2 separate regions of the Homo sapiens genome follow, and region 2 is linked to region 1. The links are contacts of gene promoters, found by promoter capture Hi-C in human tissues and cell types (Jung and others, 2019). All regions are on one chromosome and are shown on one strand. Each heading gives the region's core, a stretch centred on a gene start or on the middle of the fragment in contact. The rest is flanking DNA. Distances are from core to core; before and after follow the strand shown. Region 1 holds the start of SPAG17 (sperm associated antigen 17). Region 2 has its middle 43 kb from the start of SPAG17.

Region 1 (7,014 bases), core at 1,263-3,762:
TATTAGTCTCCCTACTTAAAATAATCATGCTTCTTCATTCTACCTGTTCAAATTCCACCCATTATTTAGAGCCCAGGTGAAGGCAAATATTTTACAAATCATTTCCTGACTATCCCAGCCCATATTCATCTTCCTAACCTCTAGTCTCTATTTAATCATTTAGTGCTTAGTGATAGAATGCTTTGTATTATTTGCTATCATTTTATATTTTAAAACCAACTAAAATGTATGAAACAACTGATAATTATTCCAGCCTGAAAGGACAACCTGAGACAGTGATACAAGGTAAATTCAATAAAACCAAAATGTGAACTTGTTTATTCTCTTTAAAGCCTACCCAACATGAACATGAGTTCAAAAATACTATTGATTTGGGTTATCCAATGAGTTACTTCTAAAAACTTGTTTATGGAAGACTGGAGGAATTCTTTCCTTCTCTCTCACCCCCAGCACACACACATAATACAACACATAAACTAGCACACACACTCAACCACACATACTTGGACATGAGTAACAAGTGTATGGAAAGAAACTCTCTGGATACTAAAACAATAGAGCACACTACGTGTGCTCAAAATTCACACACCCACAGTCATCTATAACCTAAATTCAGAGTCCGTTTCATTGGTGGTTAGGGCACGCCTCTGGGCATTGAACTGCTGGGTTAATCTGGGAATTATTCTTTTAGATCAGACATGAAATCAAGCAGAGAAAAATGAGAGAGGAGGTGGAGGGTAGTTGTCTTTTTCCTGCAATAAGAAAATGTGTATTCCAACAAACTGAAGAAAATTGAGTTCACTGTTTATAGTTAAAACTACATATTACTTTGAGTTCAAATTCTTTCTATTAATACATAAGATTTATTGAAGTTATATTGTTTGAGTAGGATCAAGAAAGCTGAATATTATTTCAGGTTTTCAAGCCATAAGGACAAATAGTGCCTTTAGGTTTTCCATTCAACTAGGAAAATTATAGCTTCATATTTGCAACACTAAAGCTAATGCAGTGTCAGCACCTCCATCAAACTCCGTTGTTCAGCAGTTTATAATTCAAGCAGAAATGTTCACTCCAAGACCAAACTTGGCCTACACAATCTCAAAGAAAATGGAGAAAAAATTATTTTGGCTAGCGCTGACTTATAAAAGCAAAAGAGAGGGTGCTTTTACAAAGTGCTTTGAAAAACATCTTTGAGAATTTGAGAATGTAACTGGGGATTACTGAGTTGACATCCAGCATTACTAAAGTTATAGAAAGGACCCAAAATTCCATGACATCACATCAGCATCAGGAGTATCACAACTACTTTCATGAAATTCTTCATCAGGACTAATTTCCTTATCAAACAGAATTACTGTTAATAGGAAAAAAAAACAGTTATAGTGGAAAATAAAGACAGGTAAAAATTTCTCATGAAGGCAACACAAGACTTTAGATCCATTTTCCCTTTAAGTACTGACTCTCTAGTGCACCATACAGACATATATAAAATGAAAAAAAAATTTTTTTTCCCCACTTTTCAAAGTAGTTCATAATGGCGGGCTGGAATTTCCAGAAACAACTTTTCTCTTCCCAAATGCTAACTTGTACGTAGAAACAGCTTAATGTAGAAGGGGATTTCCAGCTGCAGGTGACAAGAGCTATTGGGCTCCTCATTTACTGAAGCTGGGTGGGGAGCCAGTGAATTCTGGGATCTCATGCACTTTGAAGTCCTGTGGTAGGTGGTTTGTAGATTGCCTGGTGCCTTTGTGGCATTCTGTGGGTAAGTTGGCCGCCAACCCCTCATTGCTCTGATCTCCCACACCTTAAAAATATGTCAAAACTTTAATATAGTGGGATCAGGGCATTACATTAAAAAATCATCTTTTCCTATCTATACAAGGCTCGCTTGTACTAAATACAGTGTAATTCTAGGCACTCCGTGTCTGTTTTCACTCAGCATTTATTAAAGCCCTATTATGGGCCAGGCCACAGATGATTTGATGCGATTCTCATCCTTTAGAAGGTTTCAGGAGAAAACAAAAAGTCCATAAAAGGAATTCCAGTACAATTGTGGAGTGCCATCTGGACGACTTCACTGAAAAGGTTCTGGAGGTGTCAGAGCGACACCTCCTCTCTTCCCCACTAGGCAGTTCTCACCAACCTTTGAAATCACACTGACTCACCTGGTGGGTGTTCCCTTAAGTTCCGTTCGTTTATCAAGCACTTCCTGTCCCTGGGACCCTGGGTCCTGGAACCATCAGGCCACGGAGAGATACGGAAGAGAGGGCGAGCCTTAAGGCGTCGCCTAGGAGGGTCTGGCCGGGCCTCTGGCATTGCCGGGGGCAGGGAGGGCTTAAAGGGCTCAAGGCTCACCTGATTGAACTGTGCAGCTATGAGCGAGGGTTCCCATATCTTAGAACTGGTGTTCACAGTTCCTCCTTTCTCCTTCTTGGGTGCCATGCAAAGGACGGGAGAAGCATTGGCCTCTAAACTGGGCGCAGGCCCTGCCTAAGCGTCCCCGCTACCACAGTAACCGAAGCCACGCCCAGTTCCTGAACCACGTCGGCTCCCCTCCCCCAACACCGTTCGGAATCCTTGGGTCAACCGCCTCCGTCTCCACAGCAACGGAGTTTCAGAGCGCGCGGCAGCTTGGGGGCGGGGTTCCCAGTCCCCCGGTCAAATTTTAGGACTTTTCAGCAGGAAAGCTGCACAACTGGAGGAGGGCAGGACGAGGCTGGCCTCGCAGGTCGGGCTACGTTCTTCTACGGTCTGAGGCGTTGTCTAGAAACTCAAAATCTCTGGAATCCCATCCAGGACTCCTCCATCAAGATTTCTTCCGATCCTGAGTAACCAAGATTGGAATACTGACCCCTTCAGGAGGCAGCCCATGCCGTTTTTTCCCAACCGCTCTAATCTGCCCCAAATGCTTCCTTATATGAATCCAAATTTGTCTCTCCTTGACCTCTACCCTCTGCACTGTTTCAGCCTCCGCCTCTGGGGCCTTACTAAACAAGTCCAATCACCCTTCCACGTGACCCCTTATCTAACTGTAGGTGGGATTAATGTACTTATCTGCCCAAACAGCTCCAGTCCTTTAAACTGCCTTTTATTGATTGGTAAGTAGACTTTTTTTTCCCCTTTTTTCCCACCCTGCACTCATCAATATCTAAAATATCCTGGTTGGACAAGTTTCCCAAAATAATGATAGTAATAAAAACCATTGTTTCTTGGGCACTGGTTATATGCTATATACAAGATTATTTCATTTAATTCTCACAACCACCTTATCCAATTCCCACAGTGTCTGATTGATGGTGCCAGGATTAGATCCCAGGATTATCTGAGTCACAGATCTAGTGTGCATAACTGCTACACTGCTGTCTACTACTGTTTTAGGCCTGCCAAAATGAGGGATACCCCCTTCTGGAGCTAGATTTACTTTTGTTTTTTATTGCAGTGAGACAAATTTGAGGACACCCTGGGGCAGAGCGCAACCAAAGGTGCCTTGCGGTCTCATTAGTCATATGGAATTCAGCACTGACCAGGGCTTAACTAGCCATTAAGGCCCTGCACTTTGCCTAGAGGTGAGATGCTTCAGTTATCCCAGTGGCCCAGATGAGTGAGGTGATGCAAGCCAGAAACTTAATTTCCCTGGGCACAACCTGATGAACGGGTGACCTTCCACGGGGGATGTTCTAAACCTTTTAATTGCTAACCCTTTTAATTTCTTTGAGGAATAAATTGAGGGAAGGAGGATAGTGCTATCCAGCCACTAGCATCCTTTTTCATTTGGGGGCAAATTTTAATGATGATGCTTCAACTTTTGTTCGTAATTTGGACCATGAAAGGAAGTTTATCTTTCCACCCTAATTCTTTAATATAGTTAGAGTGAGCCCTCCCATCATCACAGTTCTTCATCCCTGGATTTAACCAACTTTGGATCCAAAATATTAAAACATAAATAAATATACAAATAAAAATACAGCATAACAACTATTTTACAGCATTTACATAATATTAGATATTATAAATAATCTAGATATGATTTAAAGTGTAGGAGAGGATGTGCGTAGGTTATGTGCAAATACTAGGCCATTTTATTGAGAGGTGAAGCCAGCTGGACTTCCTGGGTTGAGTGGGGACTTGGAGAACTTTTCTTACAACAGGATTGTAAAATGCACCAATCAGCACTCTGTAGCTAGGATTGTAAAATGCACCAATCAGTGCTCTGTAGCTAACAAGGGGATTGTAAAATGCACCAATCAGTGCTCTGTAAAAATGCACCAATCAGTGCTCTGTAAAATGCACCAATCAGCACTCTGTAAAATGCAGCAATCAGCAGGATCCTAAAAGTAGCCAATCGTAGTGACGATTGAAAAAAGGGCGCTCTGATAGGACAAAAACAAAACATGGGCGGAGACAATAAGGGAATAAAAGCTGTCCACCACCAACCAGCAGCGGCAACCTGTTGGGTCCCCTTCAATGCTGTGGAAGCTTTGTGCTTTTGCTGTTTCACTCTTCACAAAAATCCTTGCTACCACTCACTCTTTGGGTCTGTGCCATCTTTTTTTTTTTTTTTTTTTTGAGATGGAGTCTCACTCTGTTTCCCAGGCTGGAATGCAATGGTGGATCTCGGCTCACTGCCAGCTCTGCCTCCCAGCGGAGGCAGACTGGGTTCACAACAGTCTCCTGCCTCAGCCTCCTGACTAGTTGGGACTACAGGCGCCCAGCACCACACCTGTCTAATTTTTGTATTTTTAGTAGAGATGGGGTTTCACTGTGTTAGCCAGGATGATCTCCATCTCCTGACCTCGTGATCCTCTCACTTCAGCCTCCCAAAGTGCTGGGATTACAGTCGTGAACCACCGCACCCGGACAGGGTCCATGCCATCTTTAAGAGCTATAACACCGTGGAAGCCTGGGCTTCATGCTCGAAGTCAGCGATACCATGAACCCACCGGCAGGAACCAAATGCAGACACATCATTAAGGGACTTGAATATCAGACATTTTTCTATCTGAGAACGTGAAGGGTCCTGGAACTAATTCCCTGTGGATACCAAGGGACCATTGTATTAAAGAAAAATAATTTCTAGAAACAGTCTTTCACAGAAACTTTACAGAAAAATACGAGTTTTTATTTCTTGCTGGAATAAATACAGTTCATCTTCTTGGGAGGGAATAGATAGATCCTATGGCAGCCTGGCCATAGGCTAAATAATTTACATCTGGAAGCCCTCTTTTGTCATGAAAATAAAATAACTGATGCATGGTAATGCCAGAGAGAGATCTGCCAGAAAAGAATTTTCCTGAGAGTCTATAACAACACCGAGGCTGCTGTTAATTTTCATAGCATTTTCTCCAAAATTTTGTTCCTCACCAAAATTTTTTCAGCATTTGTAAGATGAAAATTTTCTTTGTATTATGGCTAGAAAATAAAGTTGAGTCTCTTTCAGACCAAAAAAAAAAAAATCTACCTAATCATTAATTAGATCATTCTAAATTTTGATTAAGTTCTCATAGTTTTAAACTGGGGGAAAAAAAGTCCTGCCTTTTTATTTAAAACGTAGTAAAAAGTTTGTTGGCATTCCGGGATATTTTATTAAAAAATTTAGCTGTTTGTGCGTGTCTCGCTACATTACTAATATTCTTTCTTCTTGAATGTGAACGCACACTTCAAAATAAACCATTACCTGCAATCAGTTTTGCCAGATCACTAGCAGATGATTAATAAAATACGTTGCAGATAAGAAGAGGAAAAAATAGAATAAGCAGAAAAAAAGTAAAATTAAGTGTTATTTAAAAATTGCAGAGATAGTGTCACTAGCCATTTTTTTTAACAAGTGACAGCTGTCCAACCACAATATTGGCAGCAGTAAGATGTTTGCAATATTTATTGTGACAGAAACTATCCAGTTGTTCATCAGACATTTCCTTTTATTTTCTCCTAATATGGGAGTCAGACATTTTTTGGCCTTCCTTATTCTTAGATGTGAACATGTGACTGAGTTCTAGCCAAGCCTGGCCTTGAAAAATGTCCCCCAGCATTCTTCATACCCTTTTTGCTTGATATTGGGGTGGCATTGAAAACCTTGAATCTCTGAATGATTGCTGTGACACAGAGGTCTCTCCTTCCCCTGAAGATCATCTTGCTCCTCCCACCAAAAGCATTTGCTTGGGACTATTATGTAGGTGAGAATTAAACATTTTTCTTAAAGCTGCTGAAGTACTGGGGTTTGCTACAGCAGCAAGGGTTACCGTAACTACCCTAACATTTTTTATCATTTTCATCTGAGAATCACCTGTTAATAAATCTAACACCAGCCAGCCTTTCTGAAACTGCCTGAGAGAAAAACCTTGTTACTTTCAAGGAGGCAATACACAATGCTGGCCACTGTGAGAGGCAGGAAGATCTAATCCCTACCTCCCCACTACCCCATGCATCTAGTGAGATCTCGATCTCACCCTTTACCTTGCTTTCCATTTGCATATACAGTACATTCTTTCGCTTCTTTATCTAGTAAATAAATTTCTTACTTTAAACAAATGGTTTGCATAGTTAAGTAATACAAGAAACTAGTCTTATATCACCTATACTTAGGAAAAAATGTTCCTATTTTTCGGAAGATAAACCAACTAGATCCATCACCTAGCTATCCATATACATCATTTATAATTTTGAAAATGATTTAAAGGAGTTGAACATTTTAAAAGCCAAAAATAAATATTTCAGAATGGAAGAGTGTATTTCTAATATAATCTTTTATAGTTTCCTTGGTAAAGTCCTACCAGAAAACATTTAAATATAAAAGGTTTTCCAAAATTGATTTAAGGAGTTTAAAATAAAGGTTTTATTACAGAATGCTTTTTGCCCAGTTTTGGCCTTTTCCATTATTCTAGGGAAAGTGGTGCTCTAGATAATTTATGATACAAAATGGGAAGATATTATACAGTAACCAAATTTATAAGGGGTTTCGTCATAGAATTGGTCTGTTTAATTTCAGAAAATAGGTGTGAATGACAATGTTCACAA
Region 2 (7,014 bases), core at 2,953-5,452, 44 kb after region 1:
TGCAGAATCTAGCTACATTCAGAGAGGTCTGTTCTCGAGTACAATGTTGGAGGAGAATAGAAGCTTTTCCTCTCCTCCTGGTGTTTGGAATCCCTAATTCCCAACTGTAGAAGGAAAATATCAAGCAGGATATAAGGAAGACAAATAGTAACTACTCCAAAATTAGCACTAAAAGGAAGTAACACTGTGCTTTGCTGAAAATTTAAGGTGAGGCAAAGGTTAAAATATCAGTATTCCTCTTGCACCTATTTCCCTGAGAGATGCTTCCTAGAGGAAAGCTTTCATTTGTAAGTTCCAAGCACTGTAAGGGCTGCTTGAGCATTAGTTGAATGTTTCACATGAACACACACATGCACACACACACACATGCACACACACACACACATGCACATACAAGTTGCTGAAGTGGTTCTACTCAAGTAATTCAGCAGAAAGGTAGCAACATTTGAATGTTATCTTTAAAAAATAAAAAAAACCAACTAGGACATCTATGCCTCACATTTGGAAAGGGATAAAGGCTTACCTTTAGCTCAGTACTATTAATTATCATTTTTTCCTCGGCACTATTCTAAGTGCCCATAAGCCTATTTTGAGTATAATTTCCTGGCAGGCAATCATAATGTTTATGGGAACATCAAAGAATGGCAATAAATAAAATTGATAAGCCACATTAAAAATAATCCCCACTGGATTAAGATGGAGGATAGGAGGCAGTACTACCTTGCAGTTCATGCTCAGAAGGACAGAGCAACCAACGTGTGGAGACGCACATCATGAACTTTTGCTCCAAGACCTACCACAGGAACATACCAGTGAGGACTTGGAGAACTTTTCTGTCTTACAAGAGGGTTGTAAAAACGCACCAATCAGTGCTCTGTAATAATGCACCAATCAGTGCTCTGTAGCTAGCAAGAGGATTGTAAAGTGCACAAATCAGTGCTCTTTAAAATGCACCAATCAGTGCTCTGTAAAACGCACCAATCAGTGCTCTGTAAAATGCAACAATCAGCGCTCTGTAAAACACACCAATCAGCAGGATCCCAAAAGTAGCCAATCACAGAGAGGATTGATAAAAGGGCATTCTGATAGGACAGAAATGGAACACGGGAGGGGACAAATAGGGAATAAAGCTGGCCACCCAAGCCAGCAGTGGAAATCCGTTCAGGTCCCCTTCCAAGCTGTGGAAGCTTTGTTCTTTTGCTCTTCACAATAAATCTTGATGCTGCTCACTCTTTGGGTCCATGCCGCCTTTAAGAGCTGTAACACTCACCATGAAGGTCCACGGCTTCATTCTTGAAGTCAGAGAGACCACAACTCACTGGAAGGAACCAACTCTGGACACATCTTAGGGGCTTGTCTAGGATATCACCATGCGGTGAGTCCCATTGGACCCCTTTCACTTGCTATTCTGTCTTTTTTTACTTAGAATTCAGGGGCTAACCACCGGGCACCTGTCGGCCAGTTAAAAGTGACTAGCATGGCTGCTGGACTAAAGACATGGGTGTCAGGCTTTCTGGGAAAGGGCTCTGTAACAACCCCCAACTTTTCAGAGTTGGGAGTGTTGGCTTGCCTGGAACCAGCTTCCACTTTTTCTGTACTTCCAGGCTGAGCTGAGGGTAGACCAAGAGGAAAGCCATTCAGCTCTGGGGTCCTGATAAAAAGTTGGTTGGCCCTACAGCCATGAGCAGAACTCTCAAAGTTACGTGTCTCAAACAAGATTTGTCCATCTATCCTATTTTTCCTGACCCTTGCCTCCTGGGTCCTAAAGCCTGTCAGACAAACTTCCTCCTGCTTCTCTTTTCTGAGGCTAGTCTTGCTTCTAAAAAACACTCCCTGTCTCTGGTGCTTTTCTAGTTTCTCCTATAAGAATGATTTCTAGTATAAATTTCCAGACCCTGTTCCCTTCTTTAGGCACTCAGCCTCGCCAATCAGAAAGACATAATTTTTGCCCAAAGCCTTGTCAGTAGGGGGACTATCTGGAATTTTAGGATTCCTCCTCAGACTAGCAGGCCTAACAAAGTCTATTCCCAATGCTAGGGTATGGGGAGCCTCAGAAATTATAGACTCCAAAATTGGGGTAGACATCCTTCCTATTCATATGGTGAGAAGTGAGGACAAAAGGTGTCACTCTTTCAACCCTGATCCCTTCCCTCCCTCAGGTATGGCTCTCCACTCCATTTCAAGGCATATCATCTTTATAGGACAAGGGTAAGGTCCCAATACTAACAGGAGAGAACGTTTAGGACTCTAACAGGTTTTCGAGAATGCATCTGTAAGGGCCACTAAATCCGATTTTTCTTGGTCCTCTTTGTGGTCTAAGAGGAAAGGCAAAGGTGCAGGTTTTTGAGAAAGCATTGGTAAGGGCCACTAAATCTGACCTTCCTCAGTCCTCTTTGTGGTCTAGGAGGAAAACTAGTGTTTCTGCTGCTGCTTCGGTGAGTGCAACTATTCTGAACAGCAGGGTCCAGGGACCATTGCAGGTTCTTGGGCAGGGAAAAAACAACAACAAAAAAAACATGGGTGTTTTTTTCTTTCAGATGGGAAACACTCAGGCATCAACAGGCTAACCCTTGAAATGCATCCTAAGCCATTGGGACCAATGACCCACAAATCCTGAAAAAGAAGCAGCTTATTTTTTCTGCCCTTTGGCCTGGCCCCAATATTCTCTCTCTGATGGGGAAAAATGGTCACCTGAGGGAAGTATAAATTATAACACTATCCTGCAGCTTGACCTTTTCTGTAAGTGGGAAGGCAAATGGAGTGAAATACCTTATGTCCAAGCTTTCTTTTCATTGAAGGATAATCCACAACTATGCAAAGCTTACAATTTACATCCCACAGGAGGACATCTCAGCTTACCTCCACATCCTAGCCTCCTTACAATTCCTCTTCCTATTAGTGATAAGCCTCCTCTAATCTCCCCCACCAAGAAGGAAACAAGGAAAGAAATCTCCAAGGGACCACAAAACCCCCCGGGCTATCAGTTATATCCCCTTCAAGCTGTTTGGGGGGGTGGAATTTGGCCCAACCCGCGTACATGTCCCCTTCTCCCTCTCCGATTTAAAGCAGATCAAGGTAGACCTGGGGAAGTTTTCAGATGATCCTGCTAGTATATAGATGTCCTACAGGGTCTAGGGCAAACTTTCAACCTCACTTGGGGAGATGTCATGCTATTGTTAAATCAAACCCTGGCCTTTAACAAAAAGAATGCAGCTTTAGCTGCAGCCTGAGAGTTTGGAGATACCTGGTATCTTAGTCTAGTAAATTATAGAAGGACAGCTGAATAAAGGGACAAATTCCCTACTGGTCAGCAAGCCGTGCCCAGTATGGATCCCCACTGAGACCTCAACTCAGATCATGGGGACTGGAGTTGTAAACATCTGCTGACCTGTGTTCTAGAAGGACTAAGGAGAATTAGGAAAAAGCCCATGAATTATTCAATGATGTCCACCGTAACTCAGGGAAAGGAAGAAAATCCCTCCACCTTCCTTGAGCAGCTATGGGAGGCGTTAAGTAAATATACTCCCCTGTCACTTGACTCTCTCAAGGGTCAATTGATCCTAAAAGATAAGTTTAGTACCCAATCAGCCACAGATATCAGGAGAAAGCTCCAAAAGCTAGCCCTGGGCCCTGAACAACATCTGGAGGCATCATTAAACCTGGCAACCTTGGTGTTCTATAATAGGAACCAGGAGAAACAGGTCAAAAAGGAAAAGTGAGATAGGAGAAAGGCCACAGCCTTAGTCATGGCCCTCAGACAAACAAATCTTGGTGGTTAAGAGAGTACAGAAAATGGGACAGGCCAATCACCTGGTAGGGCTTGTTATCAGTCTGGTTTGCAAGGACACCTTAAAAAAAGATTGTCCAAAGAAAAACTAGCTGCTCCCTCGCCCATGTCCACTACACCAAGGCAATCATTGGAAAGCACACTGCCCCAGAGGACAAAGGTTCTCTGGGCCAGAAGCCCCCAACAAGATGATTCAACAATAGGACTGAGGGTGCTCAGGGCAAGGACCAGCTCATGCTGTCACCCTCACAGAACCTGGGGTACATTTAACTATTGAGGGCCAGGAAATTGACTTCTTCCTGGACACTGGCACAGTCTTCTCACTGTTAATCTCCTGCCTCAGATGGCTGTCCTCAAGGTCTGTTACCATCCGAGGAATCCTGGGACAGCCTGTAACCAGGTATTTCTCCCACCTCCTCAGTTGTAATTGGGAGACTTTTCTCTTTTCACATGCTTTTCTTGTTATGCCTGAAAGTCCAACACCCTTATTAGGGAGGGACATATTAGCCAAAGCTGAAGCTTTTATCTATATGAATATGGGGAACAAGTTACCCATTTGTTGTTCCCTACTTAAGGAGGGAATCAACCCTGAAGTCTGAGCATTGGAAGGACAATTTGGAAAGGCAAAAAATGCCCAGCCAGTACAAATCAGGCTAAAAGACCCCACCACTTTTCCTTATCAAAGGCAATATCCCTTAAGGCCTGGAGCTCATAAAGGATTACAGGATATTGTTAGAAATTTAAAAGCTCAAGACTTAGTAAGAAAATGCAGCAGTCCCTGCAACACCCCAATTCTAGGAGTACAAGAACTGAATGGTCAGTGGAGACTAGTGCAAGATCTTAGACTCATCAATGAGGCAGTAATTCCTCTATATCCAGTTGTACCCAACCCCTATACCCAGCTATCTCAAATACCAGAGGAAACAGAATGGTTCACTGTTCTGGACCTCAAGGATGCCTTCTTCTGCATTCCCTGCACTTTGACTCCAAGTTTCTCTTTGCCTTTGAGGATCCCACAGACCACACAGCCCAACTCACATGGATGATCTTGCCTCAAGGGTTTAGGGATAGCCCTCATCTGTCTGGTCAGGCACTGGCCCAAGATCTAGACCACTTCTCAAGTCCAGACACTCTGGTCCTTCAGTATGTGGATGATTTACTTTTGGCTACCAGTTTGGAAACCTCATGCCAGCAGGCTACTCTAGATCTCTTGAACTTTCTAGCTAATCAAGGGTACAAGGCATCTAAATTGAAGGCCCATCTCTGCCTACAACAAGTCAAATATCTAGGCCTAATCTTAGCCAGAGGAACCAGGGCCCTCAGCAAGGAACAAATACAGCCTATACTGGCTTATCCTCACCCTAAGACATTAAAACAGTTGTGGGGGTTCCTTGGAATCACCAACTTTTGCCAACTATGGATCCCCGAATACAGTGAGATGGCCAGGCCACTCTATAATCAAGGAGACCCAGAGGGCAAATACTCATCTAGTAGAATGGGAATCAGAGGCAGAAACAGCCTTCAAAACCTTAGCAGGCCCTAGTACAAGCTCTAGCCTTAAGCCTTCCCACAGGACAGAACTTATCTTTATACATCACAGAGACAGTGGGAATAGCTCTTGGAGTCCTTACTCAGACTCGTGGGACAACCCCACAGCCAGTGGCATACCTAAGTAAGAAAATTGAAGTAGTAGCAAAAGGCTGGCCTCACTGTTTATGGGTAGTTGAAGCAGTGGCCATCTCAGTATCATAGGCTATCAAAATAACACAAGGAAAGGGTCTCACCATCTGGACTACTCATGATGTAAATGGCATACTAGGTGCCAAAGGAAGTTTATGGCTATCAGACAACTGCCTGCTTAGATACCAGGTGCTACTCCTTGAGGAACTGGTGCTTCAAATATGCACACTTGCAGTCCTCAGCCCTGCCACTTTTCTCCCAGAAGATGGAGAACCAATTGAACGTGACTGCCAATAAATTGTAGCCCAGACTTATGCCTCCAGAGAGGATCTCTTAGAAGTCCCCTTAGTTAATCCTGACCTTAACCTACATACCAATGGAAGTTCATTTGTGGAGAATGGGATATGAAGGGCAGATTATGCTATAGTTAGTGATGTAACAGTAGTTGAAAGTAAGCCTCTTCCCACAGGGACCAGTGCCCAGTTAGCAGAACTAGTGGTGCTTACCCAAGCCTTAGAACTGGGAAAGGACAAAAGAATAAATGTGTATACAGATAGCAGGTATGCTTATCTAATCCTACATGCCCATGCTGCAATATGGAAAGAAAGGGAGTTCCTAACCTCTGGGGGAGCCCCCATTAGATACTACAAGGAAATCATGGAGTTATTGCATGCAGTGTGAAAACCCAAGGAGGTGGCAGTCTTACACTGTCAAAGCCATTAAAATGGTGAAGGAGAAAAGGCAGAAGGAAACTGTCAGGCAGACACTGAGGCCAAAATTGCTGCCAGGAGGAATCTCCCATTAGAAATACCTATGGAAAGATCCTTGGTATGGAACAACCATCTCTAAGAGATTAAGCCCCAGTACTCCCTGACTGAAATAGAATGGGGACTTTCACGGGGGCATAGTTTTCTCCCCTCAGGGTGGTTAATGACAGAAGAGGGAAAGGCACTCATACCCGAAGCCAGCCAGTGGAAAATACTTAAAACCCTCCACTAAACTTTTCATATGTGTATTGAGAACACTCAAGTGGCTGAATCCCTATTTACAGGGCCAAATCTCCTCTGGACCATCCCACAAGTAGTCAAAGCCTGTGAGGTGTGCCAAAGGAATAATCTCTTGGTCCACCATAAGGACCCTCTGGGGGAACAAAGAATAGGGCACTATCCCACAGAGGACTGGCATTTAGCCAACATCACCTATTACATGAGCAATGAAAAAACCATACACTGCCCTGTAACCATGAATACCATCTTAACTTTCCAAGCCCCTTTATGCATCCAATGCAACTGTTATCAGGCCTGCCTCTAGGACACCTACTATCCCATCAGTGTAATTACACCCTACAACTTCCAGCCCCTGCTGGTCATAGTAACTTCCGAGTCTCCCAAACAGCTACATTCAGATGGCTTGCCCACTTCTCAGGGCCCCCAAAAATCATCACTTCCTCCCTGCTTAACAAACAGCCTGTGTTTTGTAATGGCAAACATACTCCCTGTATCACCATTCACCTCTGGACCTCTGGACCCCCTGAAGCAGTGCCCCCA

What was found. The method cuts DNA at HindIII sites, captures the fragments that hold promoters and counts their contacts. A contact is called where the count stands out against the background at its distance.
Region 2: a contact is called between a fragment that was not itself captured here and the fragment with the promoter of SPAG17 in region 1, in 1 of the 25 tissues and cell types used here (heart left ventricle).

What each region holds. Positions count from the first base shown.
Region 1 is chr1:118,182,716-118,189,729 of GRCh38, forward strand. SPAG17 (sperm associated antigen 17) reads right to left here and starts at 2,513. Exons shown (of 49, transcript NM_206996.4): 1 at 2,356-2,513. The coding sequence starts at 2,442. It overlaps LOC105378930 (a long non-coding RNA gene), which reads left to right and starts at 2,515. Exons shown (of 4, transcript XR_947746.3): 1 at 2,515-3,098; 2 at 3,440-3,566. The HindIII fragment of the contact is 16,923 bases long and covers 1-7,014 here.
Region 2 is chr1:118,224,741-118,231,754 of GRCh38, forward strand. No RefSeq gene overlaps it. Among named protein-coding and RNA genes, the nearest start is that of SPAG17, 43 kb to the left of the region's middle. The HindIII fragment of the contact is 4,437 bases long and covers 1,985-6,421 here.